2 separate regions of the Homo sapiens genome follow, and region 2 is linked to region 1. Evidence: promoter capture Hi-C in 16 types of primary human blood cells and fetal thymus (Javierre and others, 2016). All regions are on one chromosome and are shown on one strand. Each heading gives the region's core, a stretch centred on a gene start or on the middle of the fragment in contact. The rest is flanking DNA. Distances are from core to core; before and after follow the strand shown.

Region 1 (6,877 bases), core at 899-3,398:
TCAATAACCACTTTCTGTGGGATAAATAATAATAGCTGCATTTGTTGCATGCACACTATGCCAGGCAATGTGCTATGGCCTTTATCTACCTTTCTTCATTTAATTTCCACGACAAGGTTAAAAGAATGTATATGACCCCAGTATTCTGGGTGGAGCTAAGGGTCAGATGGAGTAAGTCACTTTCTCAAGGTCAAGTCGGCAGAAACTGAAGGAGCAAGGATTCCAACCCAGCAATGCGGGACTCCCAGCTCTGTGCTCTTTCTACTTCCCAGGAAACGGAGCCTAAGTTAGCAACAACAAACCGAAGTCGAGGACTGAGGACATATGCAACCCCCGGTTTGGGTGCAACCTTTATCAATATCCTAAACTGACAGATGACGTAGAGGCAGCCGTTTCGCTGACTAGGGAAGGTAGCCCAAGAAAGCTAAGATGCTAGAATCCAAATTTAAGGTCTACGAGACGCTGCAGAAAACATTTACAGTCACTAGAGGGCTCTCTCTCCCTTAAGCAAAAAGCGCAGCACCGCCCGCGCGCGGTAGTCTCGGAACCCCGCCGCCGGGAGGCCGCTGGCAGCTCCACGCCACCTCCCTGAAGCCCAGTCCATTTTGCCTACATCCCTGTCCGGGCAAGCCCTGGAGAATCCATAGGGCAGTGCCCCAAGCTGGAGCAGTTTTCACAGCCACATCCCGGGCTGCACTGGGTTAGGGATGCTTTGAGGTTCCTCTGGGGGCTCCCTGCTCTCTGCTTACCAAGCAGGCGGGAGTTGGGAAGGGGAGAAGGAGTGCAGACTCAGGGGTGGGGTAATCCAGAAATGCATCCCTCAAAGGCCAGCCTGGCCTGGTCCAGGCCCTAAGCTCTCTGGGGAAGGACGGCAGGGAACCCCGCCTTGGCGGGCTCTGCGGGTCCTGCGCCCGGGTAGATTTTGCTGAGATGGGGAGAGGGGACCCCCTCCACGCCCCCGGAGTAGTGAACACCATTTTGTTTGAAAGTATCCTGCAAAGAGAACCACCTCACGAGGCCATGGCTGCCAGGGGACTCCTCTCCCCACCGGATCGCCGGGGAGCCCGGGGAGGGAGGGATTCTGCAGCTGCAGCTTGGAGGTCCTTGATGCTGCATTTTAACGCGCATCGCAACGCCTTTGGAGTGACATTAAGTGCAAAGAGGCAAATGACTAATCCAAACTATTATTACAACTGCAGAAAATAACACAGATCAATGGCAAAGGCTTGAACCGGGATTAGCTAGGGAGGTGGGACAAACCGGGGATGATCCTTCCTCTCCTTTTTTAGATTTGTTTATTTTGGTAAATTATGTATGTATTTAAACATGAAGAAACAGGTGAAGCGAATGTAAATTGGGTTATAAATAATTTCCAAAGGCTTCGCTGTCCCTTGACAGAAGCCAGAAATAAGACAGGCACTGGGCCTGAGCGCTCTGGACAGGGAAGCACCCGCGTGGCGCTGGGCAAAATCTTCTCAGTGGAGAGAACGCACTCCGGGTTCGAGACCTCCCCGGGTGCAGATGCGAACTGCGGTGGCCCCAAGTGGCCGTCCACTTTGTTCATGAGAACAGTTTTCCTATAACGCCCACCCGGCCCTTTGCATCCCGCAATCCCGCGGGCGTCGGAGCGGGTCTTGGCGCGAACCAGGCGGCCTCGGCGGGGTCCTGCGGCGGAGGGCAGCGCGGCCGCAGCCCGGGAGAGGCGGCCGCGGCATTGTTTCAGCCCCTGGGGTGGGATCCAGCTGGGGGAGGGGAGGCGGGGTGTCCTCCGGAACCGCCCCCGGCCCTCCCTGGGGACCCGTGCCTCAGCGCGTCCAGGCTTTGTGGTGTCCTGAGTCGCCATGGAAACCCGAGGGAACGCGGAGCCGGGTGCTAGGGGGGTCGGTGAGTTCTCCGGCCGCGCCCTCCGTCCGCTCTCGGACCCCGGCCCTGCAGCAGGGCCTGCCGGGAGTTGTAGTCCCCAGGCGGCGGCGGCGCGCGGCGCCAAGGATGCGGGACGCCGCCTGTCCCCGCCTCCCCTTAACCTGCTAGCTGAGGTGGGGAGCGGCGGGAGGAGCCGGCCGCGCGGTGATTGGCGGAGGCCGCTCCCAGCCCCCGACACGCGCCCCTCCCCCGCTCCCCACTCTGGACTCCCGCGCTGGGCGCGCTGAGGCGGCCCCCGAGCGAGCGCGCGTGCAGCCGCCGCCGCCCCGAGCACCCGCAGCTCCGGCGCCGCGGCGAGACGGAGACGGACCGAGCCACGGGCCCCCGCGGCCGCAGCATCTCGGAGGAGTGGGTGATGGCAGGGGGGTCGGTGGGCTTACCCCTCCCGGGCTAGGACATCCTCCTCTCCCCCTTCTGTTTCTGCGTGAGGCGCACAAAAGGGCGGGGAGCCGGGTGAGCCTGGGGCCCGGCCGCAGGGGACGCGGCGGGAGGTGTGGTTTGGGGTTGGGAGGTGGCCATCGGGGCTAAGCCGGGGCGCTCTTGGGGTCCTCTTTGTACGCCCGCGAAGCGCCGTGCCGGGCCTTGCTCATAGTAAGCGTTTAATGCGTGCTCGCGGGGTTGCAAAGCCCTGGGGTGAGGAGGCGGCTCGGCCGAGGGGTTTCGCGCCTAGCACGCAGTGGGCCGCTTTCCTAGCCGGGCGCGGTGCAGTGGACCGCTGGAGGGCTGGGCGGGGGCGCCTCTGGCCGGGGGCCAGTCCTGCCGGTCCCAGGATCTGCGCTGTCCCCGGTCCCACACACCACCCAGATACACACCCTCCGTCCTTCTCGCCTCCGAGCTGGGATCTGCCCAGCCTGGACCCGACCCGGCGGTCTGTTCCACCGCCCGGCTAACGGAGCGGACGCCTGCAGAGGACTCGCCCGCCGCCTCCGAGCCTCCCGCCTGAGCCACAAAGGCCTCCTGCGGCTGCCCAGCCCGGAGCGGGCGCCGAGCCGGGTCCCTCGGCTGGAGCCCAGCGCGGGAGCCCGCCTTGCAGCATCGATCTCAGCGGGCACCGACGTCGACGCCCCGGGCCTGGGGACGGGGCTGTAGTCTGAGCTGGAGAGAAGCCGGGAGAGGGCGAGGGGAGGCCTCGGTTGAGAAAAGATGGGGATGGGGAAGGCTGGGGAGCTGGGTTAGGACAGGTAGTGGGTCTCGGGGAGCAGGGAGTGGGAACTAGGGTTTGAGGAGGAAAGAGAAGGGGCGGGGGCGGGTCCGAAGAACGAGGGAAGGAGCTCGGTGCAGGTGGCGCCCGGCGAGGCTGGTTCTGCTGAAGAATGGGGAGGGGAGGAGGGATGCAGGCGGGTGGAGGCCGCCTGGGTTTGAGGAGGGAGGACGGGAGCGAGGAGAAGACCCGCGCTGTGCGGGGGAGGGGGGCCTCCTGGGAAGGGGAGCCTCCCGAGGAGGGAGGGGCAAGCAGCTGAGAGGCGGTCTCGGGCCCGAGGATCCTCAGCTCCAGGCGCGGGGCCCCGCGGCCCAGGTGGCCGGCTGGGCGTGGCCCTCGGACCGGGGTTAGGGACCCAGGATGGCAGATCCGGGACCGGGCTGGGCTGGCTTGGTGAGGAGCTTTGTCTCCAGGCTTGAAACCAGCCGGTAGCGACTCGCTTAGGGTTTTGTGATCTTCCGCGGCGCCCACGGCACGCCCTTTTCTCGAGGAGCTGAAAGGCTTTGCCCAGCAGCAGGTGCTGCCAGGGAGGCGGATCTCCCTTCGGGGAGACCCGGAGAACAATAGCCGACCCTGGTGTCCATCCGACGACAAACCAGGGCCACCCAGGACGCGAGGGTGCAGTTTTCTGGTGCTGGGAATACTCCCTGCGGAACCTCCGGGCACGTGCTGGCTTTGGGGTTTTATGGGGGCCTGGCCACGCCGGGAATCCCGTGTGGGAGGCGCTCCCCCGGCCTGGGGGCCTGCAGACAGCCACCCCCCCACTCCGGCTCGGGTGCCTTCTGGTGCAGCGCCGCCGCCCGCCCCGCGCTGTCCACCCGCTGCCGAGACGCGGCGTGGTTAGCGGCGCGGAGCTGCCGGGCGGCGACGCAGGTGCCAAAGACTGGAGGTCGCCTCGGTGCAGCGCGGGTTCCCCCGAGCAGCGGCTTTGTCTGCCGAGGCGGCCGTAGTCTAGGGGCTGCAGCTGTGCTTTCTCAGGGGGAGCCGTAAGGGCTGGTGCGGATTGTGGTCAAATTGCGGAGAAGCGGGTGGAAATGATCCCGCAAGGGTGAGGCTCTAGGTTTGGGAGCCGCTGCTAGGGGTCCAGTGCTTTTCTTTGCCAGTGACCACACCCAAGCCAGTGCGTCTCTTGCAGACTTCGCCCATATTGTCTGCTGACCTAAGACTGGGGTAGCTCTGTGATAGGCGCTGCTTGCCCGTGGGAAAGCAGATGAACCGAATGGAAGCTTAAAACAGGCTTTCAGCAGGGCTTTCCACGCACTCAGCCTCTCGCCCGCCGTCTAAACACCTTGCAAGTCACCGCTGCAGCGCCTTGACATGTGAAGTGACACCCAAAGCCAGAATTCTGTGTTGCACTGTTGCTTTGATAACTGGTTAGATGACAAGTTAAAGGTGAATCTTTAGCATAAAGTTATCATTTTAAATTGCCATTCATTAAAAAAAAAGGCAGGAATGTTTTTGTTCCCAGACTGGGCGATACTTGGCATTGTAGAACTCATTGATGCCACTTACATTTGCCACTAAGTTAACTGAGAACCTGTTGGTTCTCTTAACCCAGCCTTGAAATCTCAGGATTTGCTTTCTTAACAAGATTAGTGTGTAAGGTGAAGGACTGTGCTGTGGCTGTTGGCTTTTGCCCAGGACAGATGATAGCTGTCAAAGTGAAGGCCTCTTGTCTGAGTGTCCTTTCTGGCCATAGGGAGTCAGCAGTAGGCTATGTCTTGCTGGTTTTAAAGGATGGTGTTTTGAGGAGGTGCCTCACAGAATTTACAAAACTGATCTGGAAGGACTAGCTGGAACATTGCTCATTGGTTGTTTTTAACTATATTTTAACTGAATTATATATATGTATATATTAATATGTATATACACACATATATATATACACATACTATATTTTACTAAATTATATATGCATGTGTGTATTTATGCATACACACAAACATGGATTCAGAGTACATAAATACTAGGAATCTCAATATTAGAAACCTAGAAATCTGACAGTGAAGGTTTTTTCTTGTAAGAGAGCTCCAATGGGAAACATGTTTTCATATTATTACCCAAAGGGAACAATTTCAGGAAGGAGTGTTTTGTTGGCTTCTTTTTTGTAATAATTTTATGGATTTTTAAAAGGATGTAATCTTCTTAAAGCACTCTGTGAACATCCATTGCAGTCTGTTCCTCATGGCAGGGAATCCATAGACAAGGAATGCCGGTATGACCAGCCTGACGTGAAGGCCTGGCTGTTGTCAGCGTAACCTCTCTAGGTGCAAACATTAGCAGGGTTGTTGCATTATTCTTAATGCTTCTATCTCTGGAAAGAGTTCCACAGCAAGGCAAGTTTACACAGTTGGCCAAAATCAGGTCTCAGGACTTGGCGTAAACTTCATTTGTGGCACTTCCACGTCTCTTCTCCTGCCATAGCTATCTGAGAATTTCCCCTTAATAGCTTCTCTGACCCAGGATTCTGTATGATCCTGCATTAGCTCCACGGGACTATAAGCCAAAGGACAGCATGACTATAGGCAGGTCTCTGGGGTAAAAGTAAATTGTGGCCAGGCACAGTGGATCACGCCTGTAATCCCAACACTTTGGGAGGCTGAGACAGGAGGATCACTTGAGGTCAGGAGTTCGAGACCAGCCTGGCCAACATGGTGAAACTCCATCTCTACTAAAAATACAAAAAAATTAGCCTGACGTGGTGGCGCACACCTGTAGTCCCAGCTACTTGGGAGGAGGCTGAGGTGGAGAATCACTTGAACCTGGGAGGCCGAGGTTGCAGTGAGCTGAGATCGTGCCACTGCACTCCAGCCTGGGCAACAGAGTGAGACTCTATCTCAAAAAAAAAAATGTGAATTGTGTGTTCAGATCATTTTCTTGGGGCATAGAAAAATATTGAGAGCCAGAGAAGTTGGACAAGAGTATCTGAGACCCAGTCTATCTTCCTGGTGTGAAAATTTACCAGTTTCTGATAGAATCTGATCTTGTGTATCTTTTTTGTTTTCTGAGGTATAAAAACATATTCCAGAAAAGTCTTCTAAGACTTAATTCACAGGAATCCTGTAGAACAAGATATCTTTGTCAACATGAAGTCCTGTAGGGAAAACTTGGTGTAATATGGGAGCAAATAAGAATAAATGTGTTTTATCATTTTTCCAATAAGCAGGTGTTTGATTTCATTGCACTGCTGGTGCATAAATGAGAAATAATTTCAAAATCGCTTTGCCTTGCTTTTTTTTATGTGAAGATGAAAGGTTGAAATACCATAACATGAATCTTTTGTGAGCTTTGGTATTTATGTATAAAAGTGGGCACAAATTATACACTTGAACAAAAGAAATTCAGGGAGGAACATGGTGTATGATTTGTTCTACTTCAGTCTTTGAAACTTGTTTCATTTAAAATAAGCTGATTTAACCATTGATTGAACCCGAGCTTGCCAAGCACTCCCATCAATCACAGCCCTGTTCTGTACTTGTTCCCTCGCCTCCCTCCTCCCTCGTCACAATCCAGGCTCAGCGGTAGCGTGTACAGGAGGGAGAGCCAGAAAGCCTGGGTTCAGATTTCACCTTGGCCACTTTCTGTTTATCTGTGCAATGAGGATGGTTGTATTAGGTTGGTGCAGAAGTAATTGCTGTTTTTGCCATTACTTTTAATGACAAAAACTGCCGTGACTTCTGCACCAACTTAACAGTATCTACATCTGGGGTTGTTCTGAGGCTTACATGTGTTAATGGTTAGCACTGAGAGCAG
Region 2 (6,356 bases), core at 3,066-5,565, 61 kb after region 1:
TTTCTTATCTCTCCATCCCTGCGAGAAGTTGGGTGACACCTTAGAAATCATCTAGTCCCACCCACCCATTGATAGGAGACCCAGAGAGGATGCATGAACGTGCCAGGCGCTGTGGCTCATGCCACTAATCCCAGCACTTTGGGAGGCCAAGCGGGGAAGATCACTTGAGCCCAGGAGTTTGAGAGCAGCCTGGGCAACATGGCAAAACCCCATCTCTACAAAAAATACAAAAATTAGCCAGGCGTGGTGGTGTACGCTTGTAGTCCCAGCTACTCAGTAGGCTGAGTGGGGAGGATCATCTGAGCCCAGGAAAGTTGAGGCTGCAGTGAGCTGTGATTGCACCACTGCACCCCAGCCTGGGTGACAGAGTGAGACCCTGTCTCAAAACAAAAACAAAAACAGGAGTTTGAGGTTGCATGAGTAGCCCACATCCCAGGGCCAGTTGGACCAGAAGGCAGGTTTCTCAGCCTTTCACCACCCTGTTCAAGGCCTCCTGAGACCTCGGGACTGAACAATCACCCCTTTCAGCCTGTGGCCTCTTGGTTGGCTGTATGCAAATATTTCTCTTGCTATTCTGTGGCCCCAAATTTTGCTGGACCAGATGAGGGTGTCTCAGAATGGATTTGCATCAGGCAGGCAGCTGAGCGAGGTCTCTGCCTGCCCAAGACAGTAGCTTTATGAAATGCTGCTCCTCCCTGCAGGAATAACTGATGTCAGCGCCTTAGAGCTAAACAGTTTTTACTATGTATAAATGGTGTTTGTAAGGATTAGATGAGATGATGCATGACAAATGCTTCACATAGTCCCTGTCACAGAATACATATACAATAAATGCTAGTCCCCAGGCTGGGACTACCTGCTTCCACCCCAGGCTCTTTTCTTCCAGTTCCTTGAGAAAAGATCCACCGACTTTGGCTTCACAATGAAATTGCTCCACTGTGCACCGAGTGCCCATGCTACCTGTGTCCCTGGGCTTGGCCAGCAGGCACCCTGGCAGGCCTTCTCTGGGAATCGGCCCTCACCTCCCAGCTCGTTTTCCATGCTCGTTCTTCCTGCTGCCCTACCACCCCTCCGGCCTAGCTGTGGGGGCTGGGATTGGCATAGCTGGGCTCCTCTCTCCACTTTCTTCTGTGACTCACCTGTAGGCTGTAAAGAGCCCTGTGAAGGCTTCATGAAGTGACTTCCCCTCCCCTGCCACCTGGAGGACATCCCTCTACCCCCTCCATCGGTACTTAGTCTGCTTGTAGAGGGTATATTAGTTTTCTGCTGTGTAACTAATTGCCTCAAGTTCAGCAATTTAAAACACCCATTTATTAACTCACAGTTCTGTAGGTAGAAATCTGGGCACAGCATGACTAGGTCTTCGGCTCAGAGCCTCGCAAGCCGCCATCCAGGTGTCAATGGGCTGCATTCTCATCTGGAGTCCAGGGTTCTCTGCCAAGCTCGTGTAGTTGTGGCAGAATTCCATTTCTTGGAGTTCAAGGACTGAGGTCCCTGTTTCCTTGTTGGCTGTCAGCCTGGGGCGGATCTCAGTGCCTGGAGGCTGCCAGCACCCTTTGCCACCTGCCCCTTCCATCTTCAAAGCCAGCAACAGACTCACCTCAAGTCTCTCTCCTGTTTCAAATCTCTGACTAGAATCTCTTTCACCAAGAAAAAAACCCATATCTTTTTTTTTTTTTTTTGAGACAGAGTCTTGCTCTGTCACCAGGCTGGACTGCAGTGGCACGATCTCAGCTCACTGCAACCTCCACTTCCCAGGTTCAAGAGATTCTCCTGCCTCAGCCTCCTGAGTAGCTGGGAGTACAGGCGCCTGCCACCACGCCCAGCTAATTTTTGTATTCTTAGTAGAGATGAGGTTTCACCATGTTGGCCAGGATGGTCTCTATCTCTTGACCTCGTGATCTGCCTGCCTCGGCCTCCAAAAGGGCTGGGATTACAGGCGTTAGCCACCGTGCCTGGCCAACCCATACCTTTATGAGCTCACCTGATTAGCCCAGACCCACTGAGGATAATCTCCTGCCATGGAATATAACCTAATCATGGGTACGTTTTCCCATCTTATTCACAAGATCCCTCCCACACTCAGTGAGATGCAGTTATACAGGGGTGTGGGCCACTGGGAGTCATCTTAGAATTCTGCCTACCACAGGGAGTCACATGCAAAAACATGGCTATCCTATAGACATTTTGCCCTAGTACATCTCCACTCCACCTATTTTGCTTAAACTACCTAAATCATAATTTATTTATTTATTTTAGAGATAGAATCTGGCCCTGTCACCCAGGCTGGAGCGTAGTGGCATGATCATAGCTCACTGTGGCGTCAACCACCTGGGCTCAAGCCATACTCCCACCTCAGCCTCCTGAGTAGCTGGGACTGCAGGCACATGCCACTGTGCCCAGCTAAGTTTTTTATTTTTATTTTTTGTAGAGACCGGATCTTGCTATGTTGCCCAGGCTGGTCTTGAATTCTTGGCTTCAAGCGATCCTCCTGCCTCAGCCTCCCAAAGTGTTAGGATTACAGGCGTCAGCCATCATGCTCAGCTTACTTAAACCTTTTTAAAACTCCACATTTACATTTTTATTTATTTATTTATTTATTTTATTTTTTTGAGATGGAGTCTTGCTCTGTCACCCAGGCTGGAGTGCAGTGGTGCAATCTTGGCTCACTGCAACCTCCGCCTCCTGGGTTCAAGCAATTCCCCTGTCTCAGCCTCCCAAGTAACTGGGAATACAGGCGCCCGCCACCATGCCCAGCTAATTTTGTATTTTTAGTAGAGACGGAGTTTCTCCATGTTGGTCAGGCTAGTCTCGAACTCCTGACCTCAAGTGATCCATAAGCCTCAGCCTCCCAAAGTGCTGGGATTACAGGCATGAGCTACTGCGCCCAGCCCACATTTACATTTTTAAAATAAAAAATCACCTTGGCCCCCCTTCATCTCACGGCTCTCTCTATGCCTGATGTCGTGTCCCTGCAATGGCTCCCTGTTGTCTAAGACATCAAGTTTGGATGTATGGATCTTCCCCCTGGGCAACCCCTGATCTGACCTTGCCCTCCCATCGACCCATCATGGCCAGCTGCTCCCCACACGCACCCATCCATCAGGAAGATGCCCTCCATGGACACCCCATGCTGCCTGTTGCCATCTCTCTCCACCCCTGCACAGAGCCCCTCCTTCAAGGCGAACAGCCTCTCGTGGCACTCCTCCTCCAGCTAACCCAGCTCCAGGATGTCACTTTCTTCTCGCCAGCTGAAATAACTTGTCATCCTAGGGCTTTCAAATTGTTTCCCATGTTAAGTTTGTTTCTCAACAAGATTGAAGACCCTTTGAGGAGCAGAGACCACGATTTAACTTGTGACTAGCCACAGAGCCCGCGTAGCCCTAACGGTGTAGTCGACATCCAAGAAATGGATGTCAGCATGGAGTGGGAGTTATCAGCACAGACTGGGGCTATGAATGCTGGAGTTCGGATTTCAGCTCCACATTTGCTTGCTATGTCATGTGGGCAAGTTAATCTCTCTGTTCCTCCATTGTCGTATGTCTTTAAAAGTGCTAATTGAGTTATTATTTGTAAAGAACTTAAAAGAATACTTGGTGCTTATTAAGCATTATGTGAATGTTTGTTAAATAAATAAATAGATCATGTTGATCAAAGTCAGATCCCTTAAAAATCCATTTGTACGAGCATACATATAAAACAGTTAAGCATCAAATAGGAACTGAAAGAACTGGATTTCATTCCTAGCGTTCGAATTTCTGTGTGTGTTTTAGATTTCAAACAGAGTCTGATAGTAATAGTGATAAATTCTAGATAATTTTCTGTCTTCTCTCTTTCTCTTAAAGGCAGAAATAGCCAGCAATAAACTCTGCAGGCATCAGGAGCTATTTAAAGGTGTCCTGCTTCAAACCAGCTACTTGCTTAACAAAACCTTGCTGGCAACTTTCATTCTACGTGTACATTAATTGGTAGGCCAAAATGTAGGCCAGGTTGATCCTTCTTAGAACTGATGTGAATGAGGAGATCTATCGTTTCTTATAAATTTGTATCTCTGGTATTGGGAAAAAACCTCCTATGGTGACCAAGCAGCTCCTCAACTTCTAGAATAGTGTTTGCAAAGAATTTATCAATGCAGATTATTGCATTTTTAAAACCTTTGATTCAGAATAAAATAAATACACCCTCTGTGATTGAGGCCAAGTGTCTTGGCAATCTTTCGTGCTTAGTACAAGAAGCTTTGCTTTATGCTGTCATCCACTGGAATTTATAAAAGGAAAAAAGGAAGAAGAAAAATATATACTGTATGTGCACTTCAATGATACATATTGCACATGAATGCCATTTTTCTGTCTTCTTCCATTTTTCTCCCTTCTTCCTCTTTTTCTTTTCTTAAATTAAGCTTGTATCTTTTTTAATATTTCAAGAAATATTTGAATATGGCCTTTTCTCAATTGGAAATATCTGTTCTCCCAAACCTCACAGAGGTTACCTTTGAAGTTGCCATATTTGTGTTGAAAATAAGGGACATATCTTGGTTCATTTACAGGTAGAAATTTGCGTAGGTGCCAGATCATCTCCCCTGGATAGTTTCAGCCTCATTGTTCCCTTGGGTGATTACTGCAGCCAGCCACATTTTTCTCTCCTTCTGATGCTTTTTTGTTTCTTGTTGACTAAAACTGAAGCCCTATAAGGATCTTTAATTAGTAACTAAACGAATATAAAACTGTGGGCCAACTACTGTAAGAACGTTCTCACTGACCATTGTTTCTCACTCATATTGCACACACATCACACACACCATCTCACATTCACACTCGCTCTCACACACACAATTTTAGAGCTGGAAGTACCATTAGAGATTAATAAATACTACCCCTAATTCATAAATAATTTTCCTGTTTAGACTTAAACGATCCACAGTATTCTCAATTAATATTTTAAAATAAAATTAAACAAGGCGGGGCTCAGTGGCTCGGTGGCTCACGCCTGTAATCCCAAAGCTTTGGGAGGCCAAGGCAAGAGGATCACTTGAGGCCAGGAGTTTAAGACCAGCCTAGGCAACATAGTGAAACCCCATCTCTACAAAAAATACAAAAATTAGCCAAGCATGATGGTGTGTACCTATAGACCTAGCTACTAGGGAGGCTGAGGCAGGAGGAGTTTGAGCTCACTTGAGCTCAGAAGTTTGAGGCTGCAGTGAGCTATGATCATGCCACTGCACTCCAGTGACAGAACAAGACCCTGTCTAAAAACAAAAAAAAAATTGGTAAATGTTAGTGAACTCCACTGTTGGGAAGAATATGTCTAGAAAGAGGAGAACATGATTAGGTAACCTGGGAAGCCACCTTTAAAAAAAAAAGGTATAATTAATGTTTGATAAGCTGCACATTTTAAAGTATACAGTTTGATACATTTTGACATATACATACATCAAGAAGCCATCACAATATAATAAACATATCCACCATTCCTGAAAGTTTCTTTGTGTTCCTGTAATTTTCCCCCAGCTCTCACCCCAGGTTACCACTATTTTATGTCACTATAGATTAGTTTGCATTTTCTACTATTTCTATATAAATGGAGCAATGCGATATGCATTCCTTTTTTTGTCTGGTTTCTTTCGCTCAGTAGTATTAAGTTTTTGGCTGTTAAAGATAAAGCTACTGTGAACATTCATATACATATATTTGTGTGGACATAGGCTTTTATTTCCCTTGGGTAATTACCCGGAAGTGGAATGTGTCTGTTTTATGGTAGGTCTACATTTAGCTTTTTAAGAAATTGCCACCTGGTTTCCAAAGTGGTTGTAACAATTTTTTTTTCCCCATCAGTAGTGACTCCATATCATTCCCACCACTTGTTGTGGTCAGTCTTTTTAATTTTAGCCGTTCTAATAGGTGTGTAGTGGTATCTCAGTGTGGTTACAATGTGCATTTCCTTAGTGACTAGTGTTGAATGTCTTTACATGTGCCTATATGCCTTCTATATGTTTTCAGTGAAGTGTCTGCTCACACCTTTTACCCATGTTTTAGTAAGTTGTTGGCTTTTAAAAATCTGAATATAAGAGTTGTTTTCTTTTTTTCTTTCTTCTTCTTCTTTTTTTTTTTTTTTTTTTAGTAGAGACAGGGTTTCACCAGTTGGCCAGGCTGGTCCTGAATGATTGACCTCAGTTGATCTGCCCGCCCCAGCCTCCCAAAGTGCTGGGATTACAGGTGTGAGCCACCACACCCAGCCCAAAAGTTGTTTATATAGTCTAATTACAAGCCATTTATTAGATATATGTTTTGCAAATTTTTCTCCCAGTCTGTTACTTACTTTTTCATTTTCTTAAGTGTTTTTTGAAGAGCAGTAGTTTT

The links. Contacts are between HindIII fragments. The CHiCAGO score rates a contact against its expected background, and 5 or more counts as called.
Region 2: a contact is called between a fragment that was not itself captured here and the fragment with the promoter of DPYSL5 in region 1, in 4 of 17 cell types (megakaryocytes, M1 macrophages, M0 macrophages and 1 more). The highest score is 8.0, in megakaryocytes.

What each region holds. Positions count from the first base shown.
Region 1 is chr2:26,845,984-26,852,860 of GRCh38, forward strand. It overlaps DPYSL5 (dihydropyrimidinase like 5), which reads left to right and starts at 2,149. Exons shown (of 13, transcript NM_020134.4): 1 at 2,149-2,271. The HindIII fragment of the contact is 4,603 bases long and covers 1-4,348 here.
Region 2 is chr2:26,904,521-26,910,876 of GRCh38, forward strand. The region is part of intron 2 of DPYSL5 (dihydropyrimidinase like 5); the gene reads left to right. Among named protein-coding and RNA genes, the nearest start is that of DPYSL5, 60 kb to the left of the region's middle. The HindIII fragment of the contact is 164 bases long and covers 4,234-4,397 here.